Linked DNA regions of Homo sapiens: regions 2, 3, 4 and 5 are each linked to region 1. Evidence: promoter capture Hi-C in 16 types of primary human blood cells and fetal thymus (Javierre and others, 2016). All regions are on one chromosome and are shown on one strand. The core of a region is centred on a gene start or on the middle of the fragment in contact, and the rest is flanking DNA. Distances in the headings are between cores, read along the strand shown.

Region 1 (5,412 bases), core at 1,990-4,489:
CCCAATAGAATTATTTTCATGCATACGGCAGAGTTATGGAAGAAAAGAAATGATCCGCAGCAGCCCAATCTAGAAAATAGAAAAATACAATCAGAACTGGAACGGGTGACAATCTAACAAAGAGACACAAGGACACATGGCAAGAGGTCCCTATAACCATGATTATAAGGGCATCCCTAAGGTTGATTTTCATATTTACAGAGTTGGAACCAGACAGCTGATGTACTAGGCCTATACAGACAACAGCAACCCTCATCCAAAGCATCTCTGATGAATAGGAAGAATTACCAAAGATAAAAGGAATTTACCCTTGGCATCAAACAAAAATATTTCAAAAACCAAAACTGACTTGAGAAAAATTAGTATAACAGACCAAAATTTGTATCTCAATCTAAACAACTGATCACACTGTTCCCCTCCATGAAAACCTTAAATGGTTCTGCTGGCTCAAGGAGCCCCCTCAGCCCTTCACCCAAGCCCACAACACATCTGACTAAAGAAGTTCTAATCAAACTTTCAGTTTTGTCTCCTTTCATTTATGCTCTACTCTAGTTATACTGGACCAGCTGATAGTTCCCAAATCCCACCTGCGCTTTCCCTATTCCTGCCATTTTGTTCACGTCAATTGTTCTCTGTCCTTGTGGATGCTACCCATTCTTCAAGTTTCATACCTTTGATTTTTCAGCATTCCCTGATCCTACAACTACATAGTCTCCTCCTTTGCATCCTTGTCTGCTCTTATCAAAACCATGCTATTCTGTCTTGAATTGTTGCCACTGTTGTGTATCTCCTCTACAATACTCTAAATTCCTTAAAGAAGAAAGGACAGTTAACTCATCCTTGTGGCTTCTACCAGGTCAAAAATAATAAGTAATGGTAGGTTGCTGAATTAGTGACATAAAACACTCAAAGCCCTCAAAAGAACATATAAGACCAAGTTTATTAAAAGTCTAATAATTCAACTATTTATCATTCCGATAAACATTCATATGCTTCATCTCCTGTTCACAGGCAAAAGCAATATAAAGACATAAGTGCAGGAATTAGTAGAGAAGATAGTGAATCAGATTTTGGTCTACAAATTCTAGATTGTATTTTTAGTTGTTTAGGCAGATCACTTACTCTCTCCCCTGTCTGCTGCTTCTCTAACTACCTATTTTACAAACTTGATGTGAAGAATAAGATCTCGCTCATTAGTCAATATTTTAACATCGTTCAGAACAGTCCTCCCTTCGAAAATACTGAATACCATCTCTAGCTTTTCCCAATCGACCACAATTTGCAGATTTTCCTGTATCACAGAATGCCTCAAGTGTAAAGAAGCCCACTATATGCCAAAACATGCATTTTCGTTTTCATATAAAAGGTAAAACTCTCTTCCTCTATTCTCACAAATTCTTTTAGGCTCTGAAACCATGGCTTCTGGCCACTGTATACTCCTAATTTAAATACGGGTTTGTTTAATAATCTAGGAGAAAAGGCACACTGTGATCTCAAGAGCAGAATATATTCTGAAAGACAGTAATAGCCCTCATGAATAAAAAACAAACCAAATTCAGATTAGGGGGATGTGCACAGAGAAAGTAAAAGGGCAGTTAAGAGTCTTGAAAGATAAAGGTGTTCAGCTGAACACAAAAAGTTTAAATCCAGAGAATTATTTCTCAACCAGTGACACAGGCCACAGAACTTACAAAGTGCCATGGTTTTCTAGGATCTTTTGTTTGGCTTATTCTCCTCTTCAACTTTTTCTGTCCTGTTCCACTTTTCTCAGCATGTTAACTCATCTCCTTTCATCTCCAGGCTCACATCAGAATTCAACAGAGGACTCATCTCAAGTGGCAGGCAGTTCCTACACCCTTCTGACACAATTCCCAGATATGGCATGAGAAATCCCACTCTACCCAAGATATAATAACACTGTAAATTTAGAAACTTATAAATAATACAAGGGAATACAAAGTTTAGAACTGTATAAGACTCTTGGCCTGTAGTATTTCTGCTCTCCTGCATCTTTAAGCCAACAAAAATAACGACGGGCAATTTTTCATTTGTCAGTCAACTTACAAGGAATTTTAAGCACTGCAGTCAGAGGTACTAATCCAGTCTACAGAACAAAAACCCATTCTACAGAACAAAGCAAGCAAACACACCCAAACATGCATCTAACTGCAACGACAATTCTCTACCGGGTGCTTTTTTCTGGGGGCATTTCACTGCAAAAATCAGGCAAACCAGTTCTTGGACTCGATTCTGCGTGCTTGCCATACTCCAAAGTTAGATGATACAATAAACAACTTCTTCCCTTCCCTCTCCCGTGGTCACGTCACCTGTTGCATCACCTGGAAAGTGGTCTTCAGAGTGTAGGAAAGGAGCACCACCAGGATCTCTAAATAATTCAGCTGGGCTATTTTCTTGAGAAATGTTAGCCTCATTCATATTTTAACGAGGTTGCCTTTAACACACAAGGAAAGGGTGTGTTGGCTCCTGTTCACCTTTGAAGAGATTCTAGCACAGGCACCCGAAAGCTGTGACCTTCTGGACTTAGAGGGGCTTGGGAGTTTCTGAAGACGTAGCCATGGAGAGAGACGGACAGTTCGGCAGAAGCAGAGGAGCTGGGAGCGCAGGCGGTCGGGACGGGGGTCCCGGGGCAGCCCCGGGGGCCGGCAAGTGGGGTTGGAAACGCAACGGAAGCTTTGCCGAAAGGACACTGCACGTCGGCCAAGGGGTCGGGCCCAGAGCCGGGGTCGGGTCCAAGCTGAGCGGATGGGAGAGGTTCAAGCCCACCCGAGCTTTGGCCAAAACCCTCGGGCTGACTGGGTTCACCGGAGCGTCGACGAGTGCGAGGATTAAAAAATAACAATACTCCCTCCTTCACCCCCGGCTTCCCCCGAGAACTAGGCTGGAGGCGGAGACGCCAGGCAGGAAGCGCCTGGGGCCGGGGTCCGAGCCCCACGGGCGAGAGGAAGCCGGCCTGGGCCAGGGCTCGGGGCCGCCAGGGGCCGCACTCACCATGTCGTACACGTTGAGCACCACTAACTGGTTAGCCCCCATCCTCCTCCCCGCGGCCGCCGCCTCGTCCTCAAGCCGCTCCGTCTCCGCGGGGCCGGAGGCCGCTCTCACCCCCGCGGGCGCTTCAGGGGGCCTGAGCCGGGCACTAAGCGTACAGCCCGGCCCGCGGCAGCCGGGGCGGAAGCATCGGGCAGCCGAGCCGCTCCCGGGCGCCGCCGACAGGAGCGTCTGTGCGGACGGGGCCGGACCGTTGGCGGCCCGCTCCGGATGAGGCACCTCCCCTAGGCGGCAGACACGTGGGGAAAGGCGGGGCTTGAGCAAGGGGCGGGCGCCAGGCGCCCCGGGGGCGGGGCCGGCCCGGCGCCAGGACTGAGCCCGCCTGCGCTCTGGTTCTCGGCCGGCGCACCTCGGGACCTAAAATGGCGGCAACTCCGGCGCCTCCGCGTCCTGGAGGAACGGGGACCCAGGAAGACTACAGTTCCCAGCATGCAGTGAGGATTCCCCCTTGCTACTATAAGTGCAGAGGCGGAGTCTCAACAGCCCTTCGACTACAACTCCCTGCATGCCGCGGGGGCCCCGGTCCTACCAGACCAGGCCTCCCCGGGAGACTACAACTCCCAGCATGCAGTGCTTTAGAGCTGCGGCAGATCCCTTGCCGCCCGCGGGCGGTGAAATCTCCTACCTTCATTCACCCTCTCATCTCAGGTGCTGCTGCTGTTAGTAGTTCATGTTGCGTTGAGCTCGATGAAGCCAGCGAAATGTGGCAAAAGACCAGAGTGATGACCCTAAGTTTTCCAAATGCTTCCTCACCTTTTATTTGGCAAGGGGAGTGGTGGGGAAATAGAGGAAGACGAGTTACTGGTGTGGGATGAGGTGTAACGTGCATCCAATTAATCCTCAATGTGGAATTTACATTTTGTGAAACTATCCTGCTGAGATGGGAAGGGTACAGTAACCGTAGCTTAGCACAATCCTGGGACGTAGTATGCAGCTCTGCATTAATTCAACAAATGTTTGTTATGTGCTTCCTATGTGCCAGGCAGTGTTGTAGGCCCTCGGGAATGCCGTGATAAACAGGAACAGGGACATACAAAATATCACTGGTATGTGCTTTGCAGAAAATTTAAGTAAGGTGAAGTCATTCTTAAATTGGCTGCACGGGGAAGATCGCTGTAATGAGTTTTAAGCTGAAATGTGAATGACAAAGCCAGCCCCGCAGATATGAGGGGGAGGAGTATTTCAGTCAAAGGGAACAAATGCAAAGATCTGAAGCATGAAGGAGTTTTCTGTATTCAAGGAAACAAAAGATCACTCTTGCTGGGACACAGTAGGCAAGGAGTCGACGGTACTAGATGAGCTGGGCAGGTAGGCAGAGGCCAGATCCCGGAAGGATTTTAAAATTCATAACAGGGGTTGTATTTTAAACGAAGCCATAAGTTTGGACCAGGGAGTGAAATGAGTGTGCGTGTGTTTAAAAATGATTACTTGGGTTGCTGTGTGGAAAATGGATTTCAGAGAGGCAAAGGAGGTGGAAATAGGGAGATGAGTGTGGCAGATTGTGAAAATAGCCACAAATTATTTCCAGTCTCCCAAATTATACTCTTTGGTGGTGTCTACCCCCACTGACTGCACTGGACTGTGACTTGCTGTGGACGTGGGACATTAACATCGTGCAAGCAGAGGCTTAAAAAACACTTGTGAGTTGGGGCTTGCCCTCTTGCTGAACTTGGGAGTCCTGTGACCACCATTTTAGGAATGAGTGTGGGCTAGCCTGATGGATGATGAGGGACACGTGGTCAAGTCACGGCCCACATCCAGCTGACAACCAACCAACTGCGAACATGTGAAGCTCTCCCGGACTATCCTTCCCTGGCCACAACCACATGGATCGGACGAACTGACCAGCCAACCCACAGAATGTGAGAAATAATGTTTTAAGTCACAAAGTTTTGGGGGTGGTTATGTGGCAAAAGTTAATCAAGTCCACCAATTGGATGCTGTTCCAGAAGTGCATGCCAGCAAGTGGCTTCGTTGTGGCTGATAGTGGTGGAGACCGAAATAATTAGAGTTTAAATATTTTGGAGTAAAGTCTGTGGAACTTGCTAATGGGTTAGATGTTGAGTTGGTTAGGGAGAGAGGATTCGAGAATAACTTCTAGATTTTTGACTTGGGGAACTGAGTGGATAGTCCTGGCACTTCTAAGATGTGAAACATTTTGGGGAGGAGCAGGCTGGGGGTAGGGAAATCAAGAGCTATGGTTTGGTCATGCTAAGTTTGAGATGCCTTTTAGACATCCATGACTGCCAAGTAGTAGACATTTGAATAAACTGGAGTCATGGCCATTTATAGACTTGGGGCTTGGTTGGATGACCTAGGAATATGTGTAGCTAAAAAGAAGTGGGC
Region 2 (5,412 bases), core at 1,397-3,896, 410 kb before region 1:
AAAGCCAATTCCGAAGTTTCAAAGAAAAAAAATCCAAGGATACTTAACCAATTAAGAATAATGAAAGATGGAGATTTGGGACCTCCGGGGCTTGTGGTATGCCTGGAGTAGTATGATACTTTCCATCCAAGATGAAAAGTGTAGGAAATGATTCACTAGTGTCATTACATTATTTTAACTGGTTACTGGGGAGTATTTATCACACTTTGACATCATAGTTGTCTCAACACTATAAATGTAACATTAAACCACTGACCACAGATATAAAAAAAACTGTAACATTTGTTTATGGGTTTCCTCACTTAGCGAAATGAGTAGGGACTGAATACCATCTCAAATATTTAAAAATGCATGTATTGGGCCAGGCGTGGTCATGTTGGCCGGCACCTGTAATCCCAGCTACTCAGGTGGCTGAGGCAAGAGAATCACTTGAACCTGGGAGGTGGAGGTTGCAGTGAGCCGAGATCATGCCACTGCACTCCAACCTGGGCGACAAAGTGAGACTCTGTCTGAAAAATAAGTAAATAAGTAAATAAATGCCATTGCAGTCATTCATGGAGAAATGACAAGGCTTGGACTAAGGTGATGGATGTGGAAATGATGAGAAAGTTAAATTTATAATGTGAAGGTAGAGATGGCAGAAATGTGTTGATGTATTATAATATCGGATTTTTCCAGAAGTCCAATTTCAATTTCTTGTCACTGGTGAGTTTAATCCAGTTGCATTTATTATGATTTTTTTTTCTTTTTGAGATGGAGTCTCACTCTGTCACCCAGGCTGGAGTGCACTGGCGCAATCTCGGCTCACTGCAAGCTCCGCCTCCCGGGTTCACGCCATTCTCCTGCCTCAGCCTCCCGAGTAGCTGGGACTACAGGTGCCCGCCACCAAGCCCGGCTAATTTTTTCTACTTTTAGTAGAGATGGGGTTTCACCATGTTAGCCAGGATGGTCTCAGTCTCCTGACCTTATGATCCGCCCACCTCGGCCTCCCAAAGTGCTGGGATTACAGGTGTGAGCCACCATGCCTGGCCTATTATGATTATAAGTACCATTATCTTATGTTTTCTAGATACTCTGATTATTCTATGCTTCTTTTCTGTCTTTTTGGACTGACAGAATGCCCTCTAATTCTTTTATCCTCTATATCAGTTTGGAAGTTATGCATTCACTTTATACTCTTTTGTAGTTACACTTAATATTTACACATGCATACTTAATTCACTCCAATGTATTACATCTTATATGCTATAATTATCAGTGCTTTAGTCCCAACATTTACTAATGCTCTCTTTCTAAAGACTATTACAATGTCTCATCTAGATTTACATTATTAATACTTTTCTCAGGAGTACTGTTGCTATTTTCTGACTAATCAAATATCAATGAAACTTCTGTGTTAAGGAGGCAAACTGTATATCTGCATCTAACTTTACTCTCTCTCAAACCTTATTAAAATTGCAGTAAAGAAACATTTGTTAAAATAATCATACACCTACTTAGGAAGAATAGGAAAAAATATAATGGGAATAAAATTTTGGAAGCTGAGAAGTAGATGGATGAGTGGCAATAATCTAGTAGATCTAGAAAACTGAACCCAAGACAGTAGTGAGTAAAGAATCCTCAAAAAGCATTGGTTGCTTCTGGAAATGAGGATGAGGGACCAGGAACTAAAATTAGGGGAACTAGGGTAAAATATGTTTGAAAAGCTGTAAATTCCCTCTCAGTTTTCCCCACTAAGTGACTGCCTGCCCTCCATCCCTGCAGGAGTTTCGAGATTTACCTTCTAAAGAGTGTAAACAGAAGGTGTCCGAACTGGCAGCTAGACGCTTTTGCCTCCCAAGCAGAAGACTGAACACTCTATTCCAAAGAATCAAGCCTGCACGACAGAAAAATCCCCAACACTCCGATGCGGGTGATTCCCAGATTACCCAGTGATGAAGTTTAAAGTTGACAAGTTCCATGCATGTGTTTGTTAGGAACTGACAGCCAAGGTTTATCAGACACTGAGGAAAGCTACTAACAAAAACAAAGACCAGAACAGACACAGGTATCAACTTGGAGAAAACAGATTATGCAAAGAGAAGAAAACTTCAAATAAAGTAACACTATTATCTTCAGAGATCTGAAACAAGAACAGGATGCTATTTAAAAAAGAACATTCAAAGAACAAAAACAAGCTACTGGAAATTTAAAACACAACAGAAATGAGAAACTCAATAAAAATATTGGAAGACAAAGTTCAAGAAATCTACCAGAGAGAACACAGAGACAGAGATGGAAAATAAGTGAAAAATAAGAATATTAGGCTGGGCGCGGTGGCTCATACCTATAATCCGAGCACTTTGGGAGGCCGAGGCGGGCAGATCACTTGAGGTCAGGCGTTCAAGACCAGCCTGGCCAACATGGTGAAATGCCATCTCTACTGAAAATACAAAAATTAGCCGGGCGTGATGGCATGCGCCTGTAATTTGGGAGGCCAAGGCAGGTAGATCATTTGAGGTCAGGTGTTCAAGACCAGCCTGGCAAACATGGTAAAAACCCTGTCTCTACTAAAAATACAAAAAAAAAAAAAAAAAAAAAAAAGAAGAATGTTAAAGACTAGTCCAGTCCAGAAACACAAAAATGAATAATAGGAGTTCCAAAAAACAGAAAAAAGAAAACAAAATAATTGCAAGAAAACTTCCTGGAACCAAAAAATACAAGTCACTAGTTTGAAAAGGCCCACCAGGTACCTAACACATTAGATATGTGTTTACACCAACGTAAATCTTTGTGAAATTTCAAACTCTGGGGAAAAAAAACTGTCCAGAGTTTCAGGAAAAAAAAAATTAATGTTTATATACAAAGGATTGGGAACCAGAATGGATTTGCACTATCTCAATAGCATTACCAGGAACATGAAGATGAGCAGTGCCTTCAGAACTCTTACTGAAGACCTGAAAAATCCAAATCCATTTAATGAAGAAAAATCCATTGAATGTAGAATTCTATTTCCAGCCAAAGATTAGCATAATCACTTTCAAACATACAAATCTCAAAAATTTTACCCCCAAGGCACTCTTTCCCAAGAAGTTATCAAATAATATGTTAAAATGCTAGAGGAACTAGAAAGAGGAAAACTTGGGATAGAAAGAAGTCCAACCCAGAAGGAAAACAGTGACTCCCAGAAATATCACAAAGATCCCAGAATGATGGCTGTGCACAGATGTCGAGGTCAACCATCATATGTAAAGGGACAGTTTTGTTAAGAACTATCATTACCATGGTCTCCCTGCCATGGTATCCTCTTTTGATCCAAGAACAGAATTCCAGGATAAGCCTGGCCCAGTTCTTATCACTGACCTATCTTTACTATGTGCTGGTCAAGTTTCTGCTCACTCTTGCCCCACTCCTTGGATCTGATGAGGACCTTCATTTCATTCCTAAGTAGTTTTATGCTTTGATCTAATCCTGAAAGCCAGGGGTAGGCCCTAGTGAGTTTAGAAATAAAATATATAGAGCAGCCAACTCCTTTTGGTCATATTCTACTGGACACTTAACACCTGATTCGCATTACAGCTCTTCCAGACGACAACTATGGCAGCCATGAAAATTCAATTTTCTTTCTCTTTTTTTAAAAAAAAGTTGAGATCTGGGCCGGGCGTGGTTGGTCACGCCTGTAATCCCAGCACTTTGGGAGGCCGAGGAGGGCGGATCACCTGAGGTCAGGAGTTCGAGACCAGCCTGGCCGACATGGTGAAACCCCGTCTCTACTAAAAATATAAAAATTAGCCGGGTGTGGTGGTGCGTGCCTGTAACCCCCAGCTACTCGGGAGGCTGAGGCAGGAGAATCACCTGAAGCCAGGAGGCAGAGGTTGCAGTGAGCCGAGATTGTGCCACTGCACTCCAGCCCGGGCGACAGAGTCAGACTCCATCTCAAAAAAAAGAGTTGAGATCTGGCTCTGTTACCCAGGCTGCAGAGCAGTGGGCCACCATTGTGCCTCATTCCTGAGCTCAAGCAATCCTCTCACCTCAGCCTCCCAATGAAATGCACCTCTTAAATCTACAGTTGCAGGAAATGTAATTGAATGATGATCCTAGCCATCATATTTGAGCCAAGGCCATCCATCCAATGGGCTGCTCCAGGCAATAATGAAGTGTTAAATCCCAGCATAATCTGGCTGAGGAAGTGCTGGGCCTAATAAGGAAAGAAAAAGACTATACACTAAAATCGCAAAAGGAATTAGATAGGAATTGGCTCCTGAACTAGGAGCTAGGGGAGTACCCCTGAGATTGGATGAGAGTGCTTGACCAAGAGGTCTGGAATATAAAACTGGATAAGCAAGAATTCATCGACTTCAGGCACTTTCTCAGGACACAGACTTAACACTCTGGCAAGGACCCTAGGAGATGGGGCACCCTTGCTGCGAGGGTGAGACCTGGAACAAGTGACACCAAACCCTGAGTGAAGTGGAGACCTGGAACAAGCGACACCAAACCCTGAGTGAAGTGGCAAACCAAGCTGACGGAAGTGGGAGGGCAGAATGGGCATCTAATGAGTCAGAAGACTCACTGGAGGATTCTGTTCCATGGGAGGGCTCAGATGCACTGCTCACCAAGGGTATCAGGCTGGTGAGAAAGGCACTGGTGTCACTAAGTTCTGTGATGGTGTCTTCTGCAAGCCAGGGTTGACTAGATTAGGTAATTGTAGACCTGGGTTTGTTAAATCCATGTAATGATTTGCTAGCCAGCTCTCCTACACCCAGGTAACAGAGGCCAAGCAGAGTTGTTTGAGCACAGAAGTTAAGAGGCCTCATATAATGAGCAGACAGATTGAAGAGGGAGTCACGGGGAAAGGTGGAGATGGTTAATAGAACATAGCACGCTTAGGAGCAAAACAGATGTGGAGCCAACAAAGGTGCTGCCTAACATCTACAACCAAAAAAGGGCAAGGATGGGGAAGGGGAGGATGCAGATGGTCACCCCAATAAAAAGTCATAATCCGTGCTTAGTGCCTAAGCCTGAGTCAATAATCTGACAAACATAGGTCTTACTTTTAAATCATCTTTTAGTTTTCCTTTGTAATTAGTTGAAGTTCTCCATAATTCCACTTAGGTTGGAACTTCAGAAGACATAGACCTCTAAATAACCTTTCCATTTGTATGAAAATGCCATTATCTCCTCCCAGCTCCCATACCCTGAAGATCCTAGAAGGCGCTAACTTAATATTAAAAGAAGGATTATTTGGTAGCCTATATGTCGGTAAGATTTTTCACTAATCCTTCTCACAGTTGCCAGTTTTTGTGATATTCCAAAAGGCAGAAAGTATTTGCAGGAAGTTGCTATTTATAGAATATAAACTGCATGGATCAAAGTTAAATGATTTTTAAAATGATCTATTTCAAGAGAAACACCATATTTGAAATTGATCTT
Region 3 (5,412 bases), core at 2,913-5,412, 400 kb before region 1:
TTCTCTGTCCTCTGTGTAGTACAAGGCAAGGTCCTCTGCTGAGAGTGAATGGCACGGAAGAAAAGAGACAGTCTGAGCTGTGGCTGCGCTCCCTCCAGCACTTACCGTCACCACAACTTGCCACCAGGTGTGTATCTCTCAAGATGGCAAGCCTCCTTCTCACTCTCACATTCTAAAACCTGCACTTCTCCAGAGCTGCTGGGTATTTCTGGGTGCTCCCCAGAGGCCCCCTCTATTCTTCTCCACCTGCCCAGCTTCTCCAGCCGACTGACCTCTGCTTCTGTGCCAGGCTCCCTTGCCTCAGGCTCCCTGCTGTGCGCAGTCAACACAAGGCATGGCATGCATCTTCTACTGCTGTGTAACAAGCTGCCCGCCACAGAGTGATGGAATCAACCACGGCTTATTCTTTTCCGCCATCCTGCGGGTTGGCTGCGTGGTTCCTCCGCTAGCTTGGCCTAGGCTCACTCACGCAGCTGTGCTTGGCAGTTAATCTACACACGGCTGCTCAGTCCTCTACACTCAGCCACTCAAAATGGCCACTGTCACCACCCTGAACTCTGGGCCCTTCACCCTCCATCCTGCCTGCTGTTAGTCCATAATCCTGAACATCTCAATTTTCACTTTCTTTGTTCCTGCAAAGCACTGCTGCAATAAATAATAAAATAAAAAAGCGTGGCCTATGACAAATTCACCCCCATCCAACATCAAATCTGTCCTGGGTGTTGCCTAACAATCCGCTCAGTCGTCTGTTGACTTCCTGGCAAACTCCCTCAAAACAGCTATTCTGCAGCATCTCTTGCCTCAAGCTCCAAAGTACTCCCTCCCTTCATCTCAGAAAACGTCCTTATCACCCACTTCCCTCCCTTCATCTCAGAAAACGTCCTTATCACCCACTGCACTCAACAGATGTGAACTGCACGATCACTGGGTGCTATTATTAATCCTCACGTCACCTTTACAGTCGCTGACTTTGTACCACTTTAGAGGAATGTCCTATAGCTCTTGCCTCGTGCTCGTAGCCTTGGAGAAATAAAAAGTGCTCCTCCTCAAAGAAGCAAATCTCCCTCTTAGTTTTTCGTTTCCACACTCAGCTCTTGTTCTTCACACAATTACCTCTCCCTCTCAGCATCTTCATTATTTTCTTTATTAGCTGTTTCCTCTTTTGCCTTAAAATATTCAGGTATCTTCCTTATCTTGAAAAAACTTGATAGGTGCTTCGCCACTCTATTCTATTTCCCGGCTTCCTTTCACTAATCACAACACTTCTTCTAAATGGCTTATCTTGTAACCGCCAGCTTCATTTCGCAACATCCACCCCATGCCTCACCGCGCTGCAGAATCCTGCCATCGGTAGCTCTCCACTGCTCAGCCAATCAGCCAGTGTCTCCCTCCCACTCCCTCCCTTCCCTCCTCATCTCCACTTCCCTTTCTCCAATAACCTCCTTACTGTCCCCTACCCCCAAGCTTCTGGCTGCAAAATAATATCGATGGTTTTGTCTTCCTTTTGGGTGGGGGGGATTGAGGAGATGGGGTCTGCTCTGTTACCCAGGCTGGAGAAGTGGCACGATCACACTCACTACATACTCAAACTCCTGGGCTCAAGCGATTCTCCTGCTTCAGCCTTCCGAGCAACTGAGACTACAAGTACACACCATCATGCCCAGCTGATTTTTTTTTTTTCTTAATAGAGACAGAGTCTTGCTATGTTGCCCAGGCTGGTCTTGAACTCCTGGGATCAAGCAATCCTCCTACCTCAGCCTCCCAAAGTAGTGGGATTACAGGCATGAGCCTGGCCAGGTTGCTACAGTTTAAAGTATTACAGAAGGTGGCCTGGACAACATGGCAAGTCCCCATCTCTACCAAAAATTTTTTAAAAATTATTGGGGTATGGTGGCGCATGCCTGTAGTCCCAGCTACTTGGGGGAGGATTGCTTGAGCCCAGGAGGTTGAGGCTGCAGTGAACCGAGATCGTGGCACTGCACTCCAGCCTAGGCAACAGAGTGAAACCCTGTCTCAAAGTAAAAAAATAAAATATTTCAGAAGGCTAAGAGAATAAGCAGAATCTTAGATCTGGACAAAAAGAAGAGGACTGACCTCAATAAGAGCACTTGCAGAGGAGAAAAAGAGGAAGAAAAAACTCCAAAAAAGAGCCAGCAAAAAGAAAATTGAGATCACAAGTATAGAGTACACCGTGGAGGAATATGGCTATTAAAGAGAATGATGCACATCCTACCCAATAGCTGAGAGTTCCACAGCACTTACTGTGTGCCAGGGACTGTCCTGACACAGTAATCCCTACATTAACTCACTGAACCCTCACAACAACTAGGAGGTAGGTACTATTATTGTCCCCACTTTACAGATAGAAAACTAAAGCTCAAAGACATTAAATAACTTGTCAGGGATCACGTAGAGTTAATATTCAAGCAGTGACCCCCTCAGCACTAGGGAAATATAGGAGAGAGCTGGGGAGAAGTCTGACAAGAAGGATGAGTAGAAAACGGGGATGAGGGCTGGGCGCGGTGGGTCACGCCTGTTATCCCAGGAGTTTGGGAAGCCAAGGTGGGCAGATCACCTGAGGTCAGGAGTTCGAGACCAGCCTGGCCAGCATGGTGAAACCCCATCTCTACTAACAAGAGCGAAAATCCGTCTAATAAAAAAAGGGAAAAGAAAAAAGAAAAAAAAGACAACGGGGATAAGAACAAAAGAAAGTCACTCCCAATGGGAGAAAAGTAGATTAAGTAGCTTTCTGGCTCAAGAATGAACATCTTCTCTAGGTCTTCCAGGAGGAACAGTCCTCACATCCCTCTCCCCTTATACCAGGATCATGATCTGCATGGATGTGATGGCCTCTAGCCATCAGGTTCGTCTTCGCAGAATCCAGTTCTACAGTGACTTATTACGCGTGCCAGACTCTGGTGTAAGGTGCTTTAAATATTCTTCCTCACTTCTTCCTCATGACAGCTTTGTGTGAAAGGTACTATTTTACAGATGAGGAAAAGTGAACCACAGAAAGGTTAAGACATTTTCCCAAGATCACACCGGTAGCAAATGGTGGAAACGGGATTCACACACACAGCCTAGCTCTCATGCTACCTGCCACTGCGACTGCTGCCTCTCACAAATCTCAGTCAAGCACTTGGACTTAAAGGAGAACTTCTGAACTATACCACAGTGCTTCCAAAGAAAGCTGTGGATATTCCACCCCACGGGAGCTTTGACCGTAGATCCAGGGCCGCAAATTGTTGACCCAAGTGACAAATTTGGCCATCGGGTATTTTTGTTGTTGTTGTTGTTGATGATTTTTTCTTATTACAGTTTTTTTTTAGTCTAGGATTGGCGTGTTTATTTGTTTAGGTGGGGCATACATACATGTCATGAGTACAGTATGAACTCTGTCAGATTCTCACTTTTATATCACAGGCTGGCCCCCATAAGAATTTCGGTCTATCACTCCCAGAAAATATCAGTTTTGTACTGTTTAGAAATGCACCTGCAAGAAGCAGAGGAATGAGCCAAATGACACCTTAACCCAAGTGATCTGACTCTAAGGTTATTTTTAAGAGCACACACAGACACTGTGGCTTATGTAAGAGAATGTTCTTGTCTTAGAAGACCTACACTGAGGCTGGGCACGGTGGCTCATGCCTGTAATCCCAGCACTCTGGGAGGCCGAGGTGGGTGGATCACTTGAGGCCAGGAGTTGGAGACCAGCCTGGCCCACATGGCAAAACTTTGTCTCTACTAGAAATACAAAAATTAGCCAGCTGTAGTGGTACACACCTGTAAGTCCAGCTACTCGAGAGGCTGAGGCATGAGAATCACTTGAACCTGGGAGGTGGAGGTTGCGTGAGTCGAGATCGAGCTACTGCACTCCCATCTGGGTGATGGAGTGGGACTCTGTCTCAAAAAAAAAAAAAAAAAGAAAAGAAAAAGAAAGAAAGGAAGACCCCAGCGGTGCACACCTATAGTCCCAGCTACTTGGGAAACTGGGGTGGGAGGACCACTTGAGCCCAGGAGTTCATGTCCATTTCCCACCTGGACAATATAGCAAGACACCTTTCTCCAAAAAGAAAGAAAGAAAGAAAGAAGATCCACAGTGAAGCATTTCAGGGAAAGGTTACAATGTTTACAGTTTACTCTCAAATAGTCTAGCAAAATGGTGATGATGAAAATAACAATAATAATAAAATGTATAAATAGGTATGTGTGTTTGTGCATATATAGAGAGAAACGGGGGAGAGAGGGAGAAGGAGAAAGAGGAGGCAAAAACAAATGTGGCAGATCATGAGGGATTGGCGAATCTAAGTAAAAGTGTGCAGGAGTTCAGGGCAACACTCTTACCGTTTAGAAGTTTGAAATTTTTTAAATAAAAAGATTTTATTTAAAAAAAAAACAAGATAAGCACATTTCACTCTCATCCATCAAAACCACAGTAATAACAAAGGATAACAGAAACCCTGCCTCATATACATAAACTACTTATACAACAATTTACTCTGGTGTTATACTATCTGTATCACTTTGGCTTCAGAAGCTGGTTATGAAGGATGTCTTAATCCTCAGTTTCATAACAAAATATATTAGTTACAACATTTTCACTCAGTACTTCAGAAACTTGGAGACCCTGGATAGACCTAAAATATTGTTTCCTGAAGTAAAAGTTGAGATGAGGCTGTGTATCAGCCTACCATTCCTTGCAGGTAAAAGAAAGGCACAGTGGACCCTTCAACAACATGGTGTGAACAACACAAGCCCACTTAGATGTGGATTTTCTCCTGCCTCTGCCACTCGAAACAAGACCAACCCCTCTTCCTCCTCCTCCTCCTCCTCAGCCTCCTCCATGTGAAGATGATAATCAAGACCTTTATGATGATCCACCTCCTCTTAAGGAGGAGTAAATATATTTTCTCTTCCTTTTTTTTTTTTTTTTTTTGAGACAGAGTCCAGCTCTCTCACCCAGGCTGGAGTGCAGTGGCACCATCTCAGCTCACTGCAACCTCCGCCTCTGGGGTTCAAGCGATTCCCCTGCCGCAGCCTCTCAAATAAGAGATTACAGGTACGTGTCACCATGTTCCACTAAGTTTATTTTTTTATTTTTAGTAGAGACGAGGTTTCACCATGTTGGCCAAGCTAGTCTCAAACTCCTGACCTCAAGTGATCCACCTGCTTTGGCCTTCCAAAGTGCCAGTGCTGGGATTGCAGGCATGAGCCACTGCACCAGCCCCTTATGATTTTCTTAATAACATTTTCTTTTTCGTTTTTTTTTTTTTTTGGAGATGGAGTCTAGCTCTCTCGACCAGGCTGGAGTGCCGTGGCACCATCTCAGCTCTCTACAACCTCCACCTCCCAGGTTCAAGCGATTCTCCTGCCTCAGCCTCCTAAGTAGCTGGAATTACAGGCGCCCGCCAC
Region 4 (5,412 bases), core at 1,417-3,916, 370 kb before region 1:
GGTTGCAGTGAGCTGAGATCAGGCCACTGCACTCCAGCCTGGGTGACAGAGTGAGGCTCCATCTCAAAAACAAAAACAGACAGATACCTGTAATCCACAGTCAACCAAAGTTGGCCTCCAAAGATACAGAAATGGCCTTCTTTATTAAAACAGCCAGTAATGGGCCCTGAAGAGGGAAGCCTGAATCCAAATGTTATTTTTCTTGTCACAATGCCATTCCTATTAACTCCCATCTGTAAAGCCTGGAACATAGCCTACTGGGATATCTAGGACCGACCCCATGCCCTTTGTGATGTCCTCCAATACATTAACCCTTATGGCATTTATGCCACTTAGCCTAAGCTTGAACTGGAGAGCTACCTCCATTCCAGATCCCCGAACGCTACAGAAAAGCCATAAAAGCAAGCTTCATCACAGATATGACCCCACTCCATGGGAATCATACCATAGTATGAAAGTAAGTAACCATTTCAGTAAAAACAGGGTATAAGAAAATAATATACCTGCATTTCCTTGTGTATGGCTAGAATCTGGAGTGATCCCTAGAAACTAGTATTCTGGTTGCCAATATTTTAGAGGGAACTGGGTGACTGGTGGAAAAGAGTTACAGGGACTTTTCTTTGAATTTTATTCTCTTTGGATTTAAACATGTGAACATATTATCTATTCAAAAACTTTTAAGCTGTAATCCCCTTTCCTGATTGCTCCTTCATATTCTGTAACTGCTCAAGTTCCACTCCTCTCTCTCAAATCTTACTTCCCCCACATCTTTAACAAACTCCTCTTCCAGTCTCGGTCAGAGTGGGTTTCTTCTTTATCCTGCACACCATCCCACTCTCAGAACGTAACTATAATGATTGACATATCTCTTCTCCCAACAAGAAAAAAAATATTCCTCTTTAAGAAAAGGTAAAGATAAAATAAATTGGGCATCCAGGGTTTATTTTTTGGCAGTGCAGGAGAGAAATAAGATCTTTGAAAAGTTCCACACTAATAATTCTAGCCCAGTCACAATTACAGCAGCATCATATTACAAACAACCTACATTTCTAAAATTAGGAAATATGTTAAATTCTAGTATAGTTACACATTGGAACACTTCTTAGCCATGAGAAATGATTGTGTAAATTTATAAGATGTCATTCAAGTAAAAAGTATTCAAGCACAAAAAAAACATGTAAAAGATAAAAGAGGCTCAGCATGGTGGCTGACGCCTCTAATCCCAACACTTTGGGAGGCTGAGCAGGCAGATTGCTTGAGCCCGGAAGTTCAAGCCCAGCCTGGGCAACATAGGGAGACCCTGTCTCTACAAAAACTAAAATTTAGCTGGGTGTGGTAGCGTGTACCTGTGGTCCCAGCTACTCAGGAGGCTGAGGCAGGAGGATCGTGTGAGCCCAGGAGGTCGAGGCTGCAGTTAGCCGTGATGGCACCACTGCATTCCTGCCTGGGTGACAGACGGAGACCCAGTCTCAAAAACATCCATGAGCACTTCCTGAAAAAAAAAAAAAAACTGACAAGAGAATCAACACACAAAAATAAATCAAAGAATTCAAGGATGGAGAAAAAAATGAGAAAATGTGGTTAGTGGTAATTTCATTCAAATATACAAAACTACTAAAATATGTGTGAATACTAAACAAAGTATGAACATTCTACCTTGTCAGTGTAAAAATAAAAATATACCTAAGATAAATTGGGGGTTGGGAGAGAAAACGTAGACAGAATTTTGGAAGTGCTAATGTCCTTATCTTTCACAGCAAGGAATCAACTGACACTTTTTATATTCGAAATAGATAGTTTAAAAAAACACACAAGGACTACAGTCTCTTAATGTTTTTCTCAAAATCTTTTCTGAACTTAAAATAAATATCGTCTCTTATGGCTAACAAACATTTGAGATTCCACAATTTCTTCAACTTAATTTTTTTTCTTTTGTCCCAGTCAAGTAAAATTAAAGTAAGTCCTTCCCACATGAAGATTATATCCTAGATTTTTTCTTCAATATCTTTTTCCTTCCTTTCCTTTCCTCCTTCTTCCTTTCTCATTAATTTCCCACCCTTCTATCCACTTATTTTATTACACAGGGATAGAAAGAGCTCTAGAATAATAGTAGTCTAACATTAAAAATTATTATTTCAGGAAGTAGAATTTGGAATGACTTTAAAAAATTCTCTTTGACTCTTTTCTTTAATCCCAGTTCATCAAAAGGACCATGATAAGAAACCAATTTTTAACAAAGCAACTACAAAGTGAGATGGTAAAGAGATAAGATATAAATCACTCTTTTAAAAATATTTATTTTTATGTGTAGTTGTACAGTATTTCAGAGAAAAGTACAGGAGAAAATACGACAGCCAATACCAAGATTTAACAGATGTTAACATCTTGCCACATTTTCTTCAGAATTTTTTTCCTGACAAGAAAGCATTGCAGAAACAGCTAACATTCCACTCCTCATCCCTTCTCCTTTCATCTTCAGATGCAATCACACCACTATTCTGAGGATAATCCTTATCATTTCCATGCATATATTTGTATTCATAAACAATATTTACTATTATTTTGTGTATTTAAAGTGTATATATATGGTACTATGTTTCCGTCCTTTTGTAATTTTTTAAATTCAACGTTGTTTTTTGAGATTTATCCAAGTTACACATGTAGTCTTAGTTCATCATTCACTTCATTCATACATGTGAACAATCACTGCATGAATAAACCTGTTTTTACAATTCATTTCTTATTGAGGGGTGTGTGGACCCAGCAATTCCCATTCCTCTTCCATGTTTTTCCATTGCACAAATGCAGACCCAGTATCGATAACAGTTTTTATAAAGCTCTCTGAGTAGCTTCCAGCTTTCTCAGATAATAACTGTCTTGGGGGAACTGTCCATGCAATCTCTCCACATTGCTCACACTTTCTACTACCTGATAAACATGAATTGCGAAATGTTATTTTAATATCTCTTCAAAACAGCACTATATGTGAAGAAGTAAAAGTAATATTTATGGTACCTCCAGTGCTCCTAGGAAAAGTTATTTCTAATCCATTACAAATAAGTTATTGTTACTATTTCTTACAGAATTTTAGACAGGACCTAGTACACTCAAGGTTCCTGCCAATTGCTAACGAAGCTGAAGTCTCCCTATCAGTAAAAGAAATAAATATTGGATACCAAGAGCCTCAGAGACTTATACTGAGTTGAAGATGGAAGCAATGAAAAAAGAGACTCACTGTATTAGCAAGTGGATACTTGGTGCTGCTGGACTGCAAAATTTGTCTAAAGATTAAGAAAATATTAGGGAAAATCTCCTATAGATAGGGCAGGTATAAAGTAAACACAGTGTACTAGTCCATTCTCATACCACTAATACTGCTATGAAGAAATACCCGAGACTGGGTAATTTATAAAGAAAAAGAGGCTTCATGGATTCACAGTTCCACATGGCTGGGGAGGCCTCACAATCATGGTGGAAGGCGAAGGAGGAGCAGAGGCACATCTTACATGGCGGCAGGAAAGAGACCGTCTGCAGGGGAGCTGCCCTTTATAAAATCATCTGATTCACTACCACAAGAACAGCATGGGAAAAACCTGCCCCTATGATTCAATTACCTCTTACCGGGTCCCTCCCACAACATGTGGGGATAATGGCAGCGACAATTCAAGATGAGATCTGGGTGGGGACACAGTGAAACCATATCACACAGAATAGTCTGGAATACTAAAAATAAGGTCGCACTGTAAAGGCATTGAAGCATAGGAACAGGACAGATGGGTGTGGCTTGGGAAAGGGGAAAGATTGGCACTTTTATTCCAGGATTGGGCCCCATCTCATTTTAGCTCACCAAATTCTTGAGTATCAACCTGTTCTGAAATTGATTAGAATGGAGTGTTAAAAAAAGTAAGTTGATATTTTTTATTTGATATTCTTATACTCTTGTGGCTTAAGTGGTGCTGGCATTTTTATTTCAATTTTATAGATAAGGAAAATGAAATAAAAAGAGGGTGACACATAGAAAATGCATGATAGAGCCAGCAACTGTCTCTACGGACTTGTGGTGTACTTTTATTCCATTAGATTACAAAAAAACTGGATTTGTTTGTGAATAAGATTAGAGTCATTTTCAAATTAAATTTATCAGCTACATGGAAAAATTATCTTCTTTACCTTAGAGGCACTCCTTGTGGGTGTATTTTGTCCCCACCAAATTAGCTTTATTTAGGGGAACCTAAATTTATTCTACTAAAACTACTCGAAATGACATTCGTTTGTTTCCAAAAATTAAATCCATACTCCAAAGGTGTGTAATTTGACTAAATTAAAAAAAAAAATCTGCATGCCAGAAAGTAAAAGTAGAGTGAAAAGATAGATGACAGACACATCATGACTAAGGCTGAGACCTTTCATATAGAAAAAGATCAATAATTCAGTGGGAAGAAATGGGGAAAAATCATAAACTGTCAGGTCAAACAAAAGGAAATACAAACAGTTTTAAGAGATATGAAAGATGTTCTAATTTAGAAAATGAAAATTAGGCTGGACATGGTGGCTCACGTCTGTAATCCCAGCACTTTGGGAGGCCAAGGTGGGTGGATCACCTGAGGTCAGGGGTTCGAGACCAGCCTGACCAATATGGTGAACCCCCATCTCTACTAAAAATACAAAAATTAGCCAGGTGGACACAAGCCTGTGATCCCAGCTTCTCAGGAGGCTGAGACAGGAGAATGGCATGAACCCAGGAGGCAGAGGTTGCAGTGAGCTGAGATCGTGCCACTGCACTCCAGCCTGGGCAACAGAGCGAGACTCTGTCTCAAAAAAAAAAAAAAGAGAAAGAAAAGAAAAGAAAAAGAAAATTAACACTGAGTTTCTATTTTTCACATATTAGATTGGGAAAAAATCCCAATGCTTGATAATTAAAGCTTGTTTCAGAAGGACTGAAGAAACTGGTACTCTCACACAAGATGAGAGACTCTATCATCAAGATAGCAACATCTACCAAAAATTGTCAAGCCCTTTGACATATTTCCAATAATTTACCGAGAAAAAGTTCTCACTTTTGTGAGATGATATGCATGCTAAGATATTCTCTGCAGCATGAGCTATTATAGCAAAAGCCTGGAAACAACTTAAACGTCCATTAGTAAGGAGATTAATTCAATATATTATGATTCATCCATACAATGAAATAAGGATAATTTTTTTTTTTTGAGATAAGAGTCTCGCTCAGCCGCACAGGCTGGAGTGCAGTGGCACAATCTCGGCTCACTGCAACCACCGTCTCCCGGGTTCAAACGATTCTCCTGTCTCAGCCTCCCAAGTAGCTGGGATTACAGGCACCCGCCATCATGCATGGCTAATTTTTGTATTTTTAGTAGAGACGGGGTTTCACCATGTTGGCCAGGGTGGTCT
Region 5 (5,412 bases), core at 1,515-4,014, 270 kb before region 1:
ATAAGAAAACTAAGGCATAAAGGATGTTAATAACTTGCCTGGTGGCACACAACTATGAAGAGAGAGAGTCTGTGCTCTTGATCATTCTATGTATTGTCATCTAACATACACAATATTATTGAAAATATGACTTATTCATTTAAATAATATGTAGTGAGCACCTACTCCATGGCTTGGGGCTTGCTGGGAGAATATCAATGAAGTATAAGACCTAGTCTCTGTCTTGTAAATATGTACAGTTTAAGTGAGGAGGCAAGACATACGTAGTAAAATTATTGGATAACAATCAAGCTTTGTATATAATTAAGTATTGAATTGATTAGTGCAACCAACAAGGGCATTGAGATTTCAGAGAAGAGGAGCTCATTGAGCTCCGAAGCAGAGAAGAAGTTGGGGTTGAACAGAACCCAGCAGAAGAGAGAGAGGATTCTAGGAAAGAAATGAGAATGGTGTCTAGCGGAAAGGGACCTACTGGACCCAGTGGGTAGAGCAGTAGGATCCACAGGCAACTTCCTTCACAGCCTTACCTCTGACATTTTCAAGTTCAGAAGCGCCCTTCTTGGGCTGCTGATCCAATGCTCTTTCCAATTCAACTTTTTTTTTTTTTTTTTTTTTTTGAGACAGAGTCTCGCCCTGTTGCCCAGGCTGGCCTGGAACTCCTGCGTGATCCTCCCTCCTGAGTAGCTGGGATTACAGGCATGCATCACCCTCTGGCCAATTCAGCTTAAAACAAGAAAGTGCCAACACGGTAGCCTGAGCTTCTGAGTTTAACCCCTTCATCTCCTAAATTAGCTCCTAAGAGATTCAGGGACTGGGAGACTGTATGTCACCGGAAGGTAAAGCAAAATGTGTCTTGTTCATCACCATATCCCAGCGCCTCTAACAGAGACTGCCTCTTGCAGGTGCTCAATAAATGTTTATTAAGGAAGGAAAGAGCCTGCATAGCTAGCTGTCACTGTAGCCCAGTGGTTAATAATGTGAGGGGCAGCAGGGTGGGGTGGAGCCCAAACTCCCAGCTTAACATCTGGCTCTGCCGTGTGCCAGCTGTGTGATCTTACACAGTCACTTCACCTGCCTGTATCTCAACTTTCTCATCTGTAAAATGGGTCCTATGAGAGTATCTTCCTCATAGGGTTATTGTGAGTATTAAATGAATTAATAGACACAAAACACTTAAAACAGGGCTGGCATCTATTAAGAGCTACTTATGTTGCTCTTATCAGTAGACTGGCTCCAAAGCCAGACCACATGGATTGAAGCCTATCTTTGCTGTTTATGAAGAGAGTGGCTTCTCTGAACTTCAGTTTTTCCATTTGTAGTGTGGATATTATACTAACATAATAGTATCTATCTCATAAGACTATTGTAAGGATTAAATGAGTTAAAAGCATACAAAGCACCTAGCACAGGCCCGGAGCATCCCTCGATAATATAAGACAGTTACTCTCCTTGCTTAGTCACTGGGCTTTTCCTCTTACTCCACCACTGCAGCTGGCAGGTGGTAGCACATGTCTGAATTAGGCAAGACTTTATTTATGGAGTTTGTGTAGTTCTACCACTATCAGTTCCTCTTCGGCTTCCTTCTAGGGTAATCTGTACTTTAAAATAAATTTTAGACTTTTTATTATGCAATTTCCAAACATATATAAAACCAGACAGATGAACACAGTGAACCCCCAGGTACCCATCTCCCAGCTTCAATGATTATCCATCATACCACAATTACTTTCTCTCCTTACTGCCACTAGGTTATTTTGAAACAAATTCGAGATACAATTTCATCTATACTATTTCACTATGCGTCTTTAAAATCGAAAGAATATTTTTTAACATAACCACAATCATATTGCCACTCCTACGCATTTTTATAGTAATTCCTGCATATCATCAAAAAGCCAGCCAGCATTCAAATTTCCTTGATTTTCTCATAAATTATTTTATTTTACTTTTGCTTTTTTTTTTTTTTTTGAGATAGGGTCTTGCTCTGTCATTCAGAGTGCAGTGGTGTGATCCTGGCTCACTGCAGCCTCAATCGCCCAGGCTCAAGCAATCCCCCCATCTCAGCCTCCCAAAAAGGTGGTACCACAGGCATGTGCCACCACGCCTGGCTAATTTTTTAATTATTTGTAGAGACAGGGTCTCACTATGTTACCCAGGCTGGTCCTGAACTCCTGGCCCTCAAGCAATCCTTCTGCCCCAGCCTCCCCAAATGCTGGGATTACAGGCATGAATCACTGTGCCCAGCCAAATTATTATTTTTTAATTTATTATTTTTATCATGGTAAAATACACATAACATAAAATTTACCATCTTATTCATTTTTAAGTAAACAGTGGTATTAAATCCATTCATAATGTGCAACCATTACCATCATCCATCTCCTTAACTCTTTTTTTTACAATCTAAAAAAAAAAACAAAAAAATACCAGTATCCAAACAAAGTCCGGATGTTGCTTTTGTCTGAAGTTTCTTGGTCTCTTCTGACCCTAGAGGAGTTTCACGCCCTCCTTCTCTACCCCCTTGCAATCTATTGTTGAAGAAACTGAATGATGCGTGCTGTAGAGTTTCTCACTTTCTAAATTTTGCTGATTTTGCTTCCCCATGATGTCATTTAATATCTTCCTCTGACCCCTGGAATATTACATAGTCTTTCATAATACGTCAAAGACTTCTATGGTTGTGTCAGAAGGCTACAGGAGCCCTGGCTGAAAGTGGGGTATTTGGGCCATCAAATAAATAAGTAAATAAATACTGTAGCATATTAAGACACATCAAGTATGGTAACATCCACCGGTTGAGAGTAATGCTCCAAAAATAGATGGATTGGTCACCTTTGGAGAGTGCTAAGGAAACAACTCTTTATTCCAAAAATAAAGAGTAAGGATCAAGTATTTATTTTGCCCTTCCTGTATGAACTGTATTTAGGGTAGCCAAATAATTGATGGGAAAAGATCCTGCTGATACATGAAAGAAATGATAAATTAAAATATTGCCATTTTGCAACCTCTAATGAAATGAAGTATCTAAGCAATGATTATCAATGGCTGCTGAAACCACAGGTGAAGAGCTGAAGGAGAACTTTATAATGGACATATCGGGTTGACAGGATCCGAGCCCACTGATCAATCTTAACATCCCTGAGAGACACCCCAGCAGGTATGATGCGCACTGGATGTGACACAGTAGGAAGTCTGCAGCCTATGAAACAGACATACCAAAACAAATCTGAATCTGAGCAAGCCTCTCTGTGTAGCTCCCAGCTCGAAGGTAGTTTGTACTTTTTTTTCCAAAATGAGCAAATACTAAATAAAAAGCCAACAAAAATCCTTAGGCACATGTCCAACTGAACACCTCCTCATGGTGAGTGCGGGAAAACAGTCCTAGTCAGTACATTTGGGCCCCCACAGTTATAAAACCATCACATTCCCGAGGTGAGAATAGTTCTGCATATAACAAGTGGAAATTGCAGAGCGGAGGGGGCTTTGGACTTTTGGATGAGCACGGAGAATCTTTGTTTATCCTAATCTACAAGGTAAACTCGTTTCACACATGACACGGCTTTCAAATACATGGCTACTGCGTTCAGGAAAACGGTGTGACAGAGGCAAGCTGGCATCTGACAGCGGAATCATCCGTCAAGAATCCCTGGCGACGTGAGAGAGAGCGGAGGTGGCTCTGACGCGCCCACGCGGCTCGGGTAGTCTCCGCAGCCCCCGCGCGCACGTGGCGCGGTGTGGGTGTGCGCGCCCCCGAGCTGCCGGCTGCGCCGGTGCGCGCAGTTGTCAAGTGGGCTGGTGCCTGTCCCCGCCTGCCTCCCCGGGTCCCCGCCTGCCTGCCCGGGTCCCCGCCTGCCTCCCCGGGTCCCCGCCTGCCTGCCCGGGTCCCCGCCTGCCTCCCCGGGTCCCCGCCTGCCTCCCCGGGTCCCCGCCTGCCTCCCCGGGTCCCGCCGCGTGGTGCCCAGGAAGCGCGGGGCTCCTCGCACACGCTGCCGGCCTCATTATTTCTTTAAACCTGTTCGTATTTATAATCCAATTCCGGAAAACCCAAGACCCATAGGCTTCTCCCTCCCTACGCTCCAGTCTCAAATTCTGCATTCCTGGGTAAAGCCATGTAGATGCGGATCTCATTTTGACAGATAACTAAATTACATATATTTCGAAAACCCGCAACTCTCATAAGATTTTTACCAGCTGGCCACCAGTGCCCAACATATTGCACATTTTGGAGTCGTTTAGTTCTCCACTTTCTACTTACGAGCACTGGTACCTTTTTTTTTCTTTTTTAATTTATTTCAGGGATCACATGAAAAAATATGAATTACAAGGAATGAAATTTCAATACAAAAATGAGTCCTAGATTCTTACCTTAGGTGGACTCTAATTATTATTATTATTATTATTATTATTATTTTTTTTTTTTTTTTTTTTTTTTTTTTTTTTTTGAGACAGGGTCTCGCTCTGTCGCCCAGGCTGGAGTGCAGGGGCGCAATCTCGGCTCACTGCAAGCTCCGCCTCCCGGGTTCACGCCATTCTCCTGCCTCAGCCTCCCGAGTAGCTGGGACTGCAGGCACCCACCACCACGCCCTGCTAATTTTTTGTATTTTTAGTAGAGACGGGGTTTCACCGTGTTAGCCAGGATGGTCTCGATCTCCTGACCTCGTGATCCGCCCGCCTCGGCCTCCCAAAGTGCTGGGATTACAGCGTGAGCCACCGCGCCCGGCCTATTTTTTAACATATAGGAAGATTTCAAAGTCCACTGGATTCTTACTATTTTGCTTTTGAATGCATAAAAGAAACAGCCAAATAACACTTTTCAATAATTTATTTTTAAAAGTTATTTTATTCCTAAACAGTAGAGTTCACATCTTTTTCTGCTAAGTTCTTCCACAAGCTGGCAAAGGATCCAAGATGTAGCCTGGCATTTATCTTTGTTCTCTTTGCCACTCTCATGGAAATATGGTGAATGCAGTCCGTTCTTAACGGTCGTATTTAGCCTCGGTTCTGTGAATTCGATTTTCTTTTCCTTTTTAAAGGCGATAGAGTGGGATCCAATAGACGTTGGAGCTGACTCTGAGCTTTTTTGACTTGTACGTGTCACATCTGAAGGCAAGTTCCCTCGTGCTGGATGAAAGCTAAAAGGCTGGGTGCCCGGTTTACCATCAGCTCAGGGCAGAATAATGATGCGAGGCCTGACATTTAATACACCAGTGATCCCAGATATTGCTGCTGAAAGCTTTCTCCACAAAGCAGGAACCAGAAGAACCTTACGGCAGTGTCTGACTTTAATTCACAAGTGAGGGAGCCGTGAGGTGAGGGTCAACTATCACGTGTCTCTTCAACACAAGGGAAAGAACTGCCCAGCAAAGAGAACCCTATGTATGTCATAAATATGAGCTCACAGAGTGCGTGGAC

What was found. Contacts are between HindIII fragments. The CHiCAGO score rates a contact against its expected background, and 5 or more counts as called.
Region 2: a fragment that was not itself captured here is called in contact with the fragment with the promoter of DESI2 in region 1 in 2 of 17 cell types (neutrophils and monocytes); the score reaches 8.9 in neutrophils.
Region 3: a fragment that was not itself captured here is called in contact with the fragment with the promoter of DESI2 in region 1 in 16 of 17 cell types (naive CD8 T cells, activated CD4 T cells, neutrophils and 13 more); the score reaches 11.7 in naive CD8 T cells.
Region 4: a contact is called between a fragment that was not itself captured here and the fragment with the promoter of DESI2 in region 1, in 2 of 17 cell types (naive CD8 T cells and total CD8 T cells). The highest score is 7.5, in naive CD8 T cells.
Region 5: a fragment that was not itself captured here is called in contact with the fragment with the promoter of DESI2 in region 1 in 1 of 17 cell types (activated CD4 T cells); the score reaches 7.2 in activated CD4 T cells.

What each region holds. Positions count from the first base shown.
Region 1 is chr1:244,650,953-244,656,364 of GRCh38, reverse strand. It overlaps DESI2 (desumoylating isopeptidase 2), which reads right to left and starts at 3,239. Exons shown (of 5, transcript NM_016076.5): 1 at 3,010-3,239. The coding sequence starts at 3,051. RefSeq lists a silencer at 2,726-3,495 and enhancers at 3,576-3,735, 3,995-4,568. The HindIII fragment of the contact is 4,542 bases long and covers 2,694-5,412 here.
Region 2 is chr1:245,062,245-245,067,656 of GRCh38, reverse strand. All of the region lies in intron 4 of DRC8 (dynein regulatory complex subunit 8), which reads right to left. Among named protein-coding and RNA genes, the nearest start is that of KIF26B, 90 kb to the left of the region's middle. The HindIII fragment of the contact is 7,671 bases long and covers 1-5,412 here.
Region 3 is chr1:245,047,499-245,052,910 of GRCh38, reverse strand. The region is part of intron 3 of DRC8 (dynein regulatory complex subunit 8); the gene reads right to left. Among named protein-coding and RNA genes, the nearest start is that of EFCAB2-AS1, 79 kb to the right of the region's middle. RefSeq lists enhancers at 335-836, 5,380-5,412. The HindIII fragment of the contact is 5,391 bases long and covers 1,467-5,412 here.
Region 4 is chr1:245,023,969-245,029,380 of GRCh38, reverse strand. The region is part of intron 3 of DRC8 (dynein regulatory complex subunit 8); the gene reads right to left. All of the region lies in intron 1 of LOC107985725 (a long non-coding RNA gene), which reads right to left. Among named protein-coding and RNA genes, the nearest start is that of EFCAB2-AS1, 56 kb to the right of the region's middle. The HindIII fragment of the contact is 4,516 bases long and covers 409-4,924 here.
Region 5 is chr1:244,917,242-244,922,653 of GRCh38, reverse strand. No RefSeq gene overlaps it. Among named protein-coding and RNA genes, the nearest start is that of DRC8, 50 kb to the left of the region's middle. RefSeq lists a silencer at 3,651-4,010. The HindIII fragment of the contact is 4,942 bases long and covers 294-5,235 here.